Linked DNA regions of Homo sapiens: region 2 is linked to region 1. The links are contacts of gene promoters, found by promoter capture Hi-C in blood cells and fetal thymus (Javierre and others, 2016). All regions are on one chromosome and are shown on one strand. Each heading gives the region's core, a stretch centred on a gene start or on the middle of the fragment in contact. The rest is flanking DNA. Distances are from core to core; before and after follow the strand shown.

Region 1 (3,062 bases), core at 409-2,908:
ACCTTAATATACTTACAATGCTGATTATTATTCATAATTTTGCATTTGGGGCAATTATACTCGCTCCTACTGGGATATGGAAATCAAGGGCAGAAAGAACTAGGTGACATTCTACCTCCCTGTGTATTTTAATGATGTTTAGTTTGGTTCAAATAACCATACCTCTAAAATACACCCTTTTTCCTTGGGACCCACTCTTCTATCCGGCAAGGGAATAACTTCTTAAAAAACTTCGCATTTTCCAAGTGTACAGTCTCCCCTTAACCAGAACTGCAGACTCTGAATCACAGACCTCTGGCTTACCAATTATGCTTAGCTGAGCAAACACACTTATGCAAATACGTGAAAAACAAACTGTTAGAGCCTGAAGGAATAGAGGATTTCGCTGTGATCATCAATATGTGATCATCACATTTTCAATATTTATGTTTACCAATATCTATCTAACCCCATAGGAAACGACGCGTCCATAGTGAAACAAGCCAGCACCCACATTTATGAAAAAATCCACGGATTTCAACAAAAATGAAGAGAGGAGAGCAGAAGCGGAGAGCCACAACCTCAGGCCCCAGACAGCAGGCAGCAGCAAGTCCTGAATGCCTTCACTCTTAACATTGCAAAGACCAAATGGCAGCAAAGAAAAACAAGAATAAACTTTAAATCCATTCACCACAAAGGAGTCCTACGCAAGTCAAAGGAGCCGTCGATTTCAAAACCATCAACTTTCAAAGCCAGGTCCCTCCCTTGCCTTACAACCTCCTGTTACTTGTTAAGCACGTTTGTTAGGCGGCTGGACAGAAACTTAGTTAAAAGTCCTCAGCCCGGTGGTGGGGGACAACCGAGTCGTCAGTGGGAAGCGAGAGGTGCGGAGCCCCAGGGGCGCAGGGACCCCTCGGAGGTGCAAGTCCAGCGGGACGAGGTTTTGGGAGAATTTCGAGGGCCCCTCGCAAGCCCTCCCGCGCACCCACCCCGACCCAGGTAACCGGAGGCCACCTACGTGTCACTGGGCGGGCCCCGGGGCGCACTGACCTGGCGCGGGACAGGAGGGCCGGCGGCCCGGGCGGCTGCGGCAACTTCCCTCCAGGGGCTCGGTCCGCCGCTGGGTGCGGGAGGCCAGGGGAGCCTCGCCTCCTGCAGGCCGGCTCGCAAGAACGCACGGCCACCCACCCGCGCCGCGGCCCACAGCGCGCACCCACACTCTCACTGGCACTCGCACGCGCGCCCCCAACCACAAAGCCCGTCCGCGGCGGGACAGTGTGAGCCCAGCGCGCCGTGTGGCGGGCCGAGCAGTCGCCGCGGCCTCTGGCTTCGCGCCCAGGGGGCGCCGTCCCCACACGCCGCGCCGGCCCCCTTACCTGCGCTCGCTGCCGCCGCGCGTCCCTCTCCTGCCGCCCCCGGGCTGGCTTCAGGCCGCGCGCCCAGTCCCGGCGGCCCCCGCCCCACCGCCAGCCGAGCCCGGCCCTCCGCCCGCCCCTCGGCAGTCGCCCAGAGCGGGGCCGCCCCCTGCGCCCACCCCGCCGGGGTCCCGTGCTCGGCCGGGCGGCGGGGAGGGCTCCGCGGCTCCGGGCCCTGGCCGCCCCAGATCCGGCCCGCGCTCCGCAGCGGGGCTGGAGACGGAGTCGCCACTCAGGGAGCGTCAGCCGCCAGTCGGCCCCTACTGCCCGGCTTTGGCGCGCTGGCAGGAGGAGGGGGCGCAGAGGGAGGGCCAGAGGAGCAGCGCCGACGCCAGCCTCCTCTCTTCCTCCGCCTTCCTTCTTTTCTGCTTGTTCCACGTAGCACAAGTCAGCAACACCCGAACCCCCAGAGTCCGCCCTCCCCGCTCCCAAGCTGGACCCCTTACCTGGTGTGGCGCCCCCAGCGCCCCTGACCTCTGCGCCCCCTCCTCCATTCATTGGCTCGACAGCCCACGGTGGTGGCAGGGCCGGGGCTGGGGGGTGGCCTTAGCCTCCCATTCATTATCTCAGCAGCCTCCCCCGCCCCGCCCCCGAGTCGACACACCCGCAGCGGGAGACCCGTGGCCGCCAGCTCGGGTCCCACCCCCGCCCCTCCTGCGCTTACCCCAGCGCCGGACAGCTGGCAGGACTCCGGTGGACGCCCCGGCACGGGGCATTTTCACGTTGTCGCTCTCCTCTTCCCACTCGAAAAGCTCTGGAAAACATCGCGGGGCCCGCAAAACCCCGGAAATGTGGCCTCTCTTTCGTGGCTCACTTTCTAAACTTTCCAGAAGGCGCAAAGTTTCTCCCAGCGCCGCCCTGCACTGGAGGCTGCGAAGAACGCAGAAGCGGCTTTGCTGCTAGGAAGGTGCATACGTTTCTAGTTCTGATTTTTCACTTCACTGGATCTGTAAACGAAAGCAAGTGTGTCTGCTCCCCTAGTTCTCCATATCCACGATTATAAATTTCTCTTCCGCTTTCCCAGTGTAGCTTTGCAAGTGTAAACTATCAATTTTAGTGAGAGTAATTAAGGGCGGGGACTGCACACCTGGAGGTGTGGGTGGGAGCGGCGCGGGACTAAGGCCTAGGGAACATTCTCAGGAGAGTGGCAGCCACAGGGATTCGCCCAGGTCTTATAACACACCCACTCGATGGGGTCTCCCTAGCCACGCCACCTCACAACACCCATCTCCCACTTCTGGCTTCCCAGGATTTCCGGAGTGATCACAATTATCGGCCTCTCGCTCCACAGCTAAGGCCACCGCATATCAAAAATAGCAGCGTGTGAGTAAAAGTTTCATGAGCCCTCGCCTTGAAATGGCACAGAGGACACAGCACACCAGCAGTAAGGCATGGGGACTCGGCAGGACTGATCTGATTGAGAGAAACGCAGGACAGCGAGGCGGGGCTATGTTGGTGGTGGCCACCAGGTAACCGTGGGCTTTGCAGAAGAGAAAGGTCACTGCAAACCGTAGCTGGACGGAAACTTTTCAAGCCTCAAGTGAGTTATGCTGTGACGGGACCATGACCATCTCCCACCGGTGACTGCTTAGAACCTTGACCAAGCTCGTGTGGTTTTCACAGGATGCTCAGGGCTGAGTCCTGGCTGTAAATAATTTACTATCTAAA
Region 2 (3,062 bases), core at 310-2,809, 400 kb before region 1:
AGTGTGATTTTTTCATTTTGATTTTAAAAAGCCCTTTGCCTCATTTTAAGTTTTACTTTTCTTAACTCAAATTATACTTAGTATACTTTCTAATTAGTTTGTCAATGTACTCATTGACAACTGAGTACAACTGATATATTTATTAGTATATCAATTGATATATGCTTCTAAAGTGATTGAAACATTTGATCTTTTCAGTAGCATTAAAAGTTTTCCTAAAAATATTTCTTACCGTTTTTCAATGGCTTCCTTCAAACTGTAGCCTAACCACAGTCTGTGACAGCATTACATATGATGAATTAATGAGATCTGAATTCCATAGTATAAATGTTGTAAAGAAGAATGCGGAATATCTTTATGTGCTCAGTATTTAGGAAGCTGCCTAACTGGACTAGAATAGTTCCAATTTAAATTGGTGGATTTTCAAAAATTTTGGCCATTCGATTAATGACAAAGTTTTTGGAATAATTTAAACTCTTTAAGCAAGGGATAGGTGTACTCACTCATCAAAACATCTACACGAGGTACGTATTATTATTATTATAACATTTTAGAAAGGAGGAAAGAGATTAAATTACTTTCCCAAGGTAATATAGCCAGGCTTCAAACCCACACAGTAAAAACATCTTACAGCTTGTGGTTTTATTTCCACAACTATGTTAGAGAGAGAGAGAGGCCTGCAAATAAAAACTTCAAGTGCTGATTTTACCTAGAACTCTGTAAAATGACTTAACATAGCATTGATTGTCACCTGTGGCTGGGTGCCCAGTGGGAGTACCTAGACATCTGCAGTGGAAGTTGTTTTGACAGCTTCAGGAGTATTAGAAGACAGTCCTTTTGGCAGGCCTGGTGACATTATTACAGAGAACAATAGAAGAAGTGACAGTGATGAGAGGCTCTTACAGCTGAGGTTTGACAGGATGTCTCATTGAAGAGGCTGTTGCAAGAAAGTAAGATAACAGCAGCTGTGGGGGTAGGAGAAGAGATTCAGTTGTGAATTCAAGTGCAACCCCCAACCCACTCACTTACCCTGGAGACTTGCAATGTATATGATAGACTGTGCAGAATGCCTGACGCTACATGGAGTGATGGAGTTGAAAGCAGAAAATTTTGCATATTCCTTGACAAATAGTCCTACTTTTGCCTCTGGTATGGTCTAGAGAATAGACAGTATTCCTCTACCAAGACAGAGAAGCTGTGTCGAGGGGGCAAAGTTGATGTAATTTGGCAAGAATTACCTTCATGACATCAAGGGATTGATTTGCACAGCCATAATTCATTCCTGGGCTGCAATGCTCTATGATAGCTGAAATCCAGTTATCCTTATTTTGAGTCAGTTGGTCCTTTGACTGAAGCCAAACTTCAAATGATGAAAACTTAACGGGGCTCAGAGAAAAGCTAATGTAGGATTTAGAAAGATCCACTCATGGGTTACACATCATCGTTTTTCATGGATGATTACTAAATTAGTCAGAGCAAATATCTATAATTTTACTTGCAGAGTCACAGCCCTAGCTCTGCCAAGTACCCTGAGCTTTGTGTGATCTGAGGGACAGCATACATAGCCTTGGTGCAGTCACCAGGGGTGACCACAGAATTCCCTTATTCCAGGTGACACTGACCTTCAAATTAAAACAAGCCTCTGTCTTAATGGCTAAAATTGGTGAGAAATGGAACCAAAGTTTTTCCGATTTTGATAATGAAACACTGTAGGAGTAACCAGGCAAAAACAAAATTAAAAAGGTGACTTTCAATAGTACAAAAATTAGATTTGCTTCAAACTCATGCAATATTGAATGTCCGTCAATAGTACGAAAAGACTATATTCGATCTATTGCCTTTTACAAGTGGAGTCTTTAGGAGACAATTTTTCGTACACAAAGCCTTAGAAAACAGCTACTACGTACCCTTTCTGAAAAAGAAAGAAAAATATTTTACTCAATAGAAAAATGAATCAAAATTTACAAGTCAAGGCCAGGTACAGTGGCTCATGCCTGTAATCCCAGCACTTTGAGAGGCTGAGGTGGGTAGATCACTTGAGGTCAGGAGTTTGAGACCAGCCTGGCCAACATGGTGAAACCCTGTCTCTACTAAAAATACAAAAAATTACCCGGGCGTGGTGATGGGCACCTGTAATCCCAGCTATCTGGGAAGCTGAGGCAGAAGAATTGCTTGAACCCGGGAGGCAGAGGTTGTAGTGAGCCCAGATGGCGCCTCTGCACTCCAGCCTGGGCGATGGAGCGAGACTCCATCTCAAAAAAAATATTCGCGAGTCAAGATAGTTTTGTGACATGTAAGAACTGATGAGTGCAGGAATAATGTGTAAAGTTGACTAAAGTGTTGTAAGCATAACTGCAAAACTGGGCACAGATGTAAAAACTGTCTGTAAATGTTTATTTATAAATTTTATATATATGTATGTGTATAGTTGAAAGTAATGCATAATCATAGTGAATAATTTGGGGAATCAGAAAATTCAATTACAAAATAAGAATATAAAAATATATTTTATATAAAATGTAGAAACTTTTTATATAAATATAAAATTAAAATACTAAAATATTTAAAATTTATCTGCTCTTCTACCTCTGAGAGAAAATTCTAAAGATTTCAGTGTATTCTCTCTCTACATATATGCATGTGTACAAACCATACTATATAGGCACATTTTATTCTTATACTTTAAAAACAATAATGGCACTTTGGGAGGCCAAGGAAGGCTGATCACTTTGAGGTCAGGAGTTCGAGATCAGCCTGTCCAACATGGTGAAACCCTGTCTCTACTAAAAAATATACAGATTAGCTGGGCGTGGTGGTGTGCTCCTGTAGTCCTAGCTACTTGGGAGGCTGAGGCATGAGAATTGCTTGAACCTGGGAGGTGGAGGTTGCAGTGAGCGGAGATCACGCCACTGCAGTCCAGCCTTGGCGACAGAGTGAGACCCTGTCTCAAAATAATAACAATAATAATAATAATAAAATGGATCAAAATTTATATTCTTAAATTCAAAAAACATGATTATTTCAGCTTTTTTTTTTTTGGCTGTGATGTCTAACATAGATGT

Evidence for each region. Contacts are between HindIII fragments. The CHiCAGO score rates a contact against its expected background, and 5 or more counts as called.
Region 2: a contact is called between a fragment that was not itself captured here and the fragment with the promoter of LPAR1 in region 1, in 3 of 17 cell types (M1 macrophages, M2 macrophages and M0 macrophages). The highest score is 12.9, in M1 macrophages.

The regions. Positions count from the first base shown.
Region 1 is chr9:111,036,812-111,039,873 of GRCh38, forward strand. LPAR1 (lysophosphatidic acid receptor 1) reads right to left here and starts at 1,659. Exons shown (of 6, transcript NM_001351411.2): 1 at 1,356-1,659. LOC124902248 (a long non-coding RNA gene) reads left to right here and starts at 117. Exons shown (of 2, transcript XR_007061732.1): 1 at 117-978; 2 at 2,644-3,062. RefSeq lists a silencer at 1,089-1,428. The HindIII fragment of the contact is 5,735 bases long and covers 1-3,062 here.
Region 2 is chr9:110,640,071-110,643,132 of GRCh38, forward strand. No RefSeq gene overlaps it. Among named protein-coding and RNA genes, the nearest start is that of MUSK, 27 kb to the right of the region's middle. The HindIII fragment of the contact is 3,157 bases long and covers 1-3,062 here.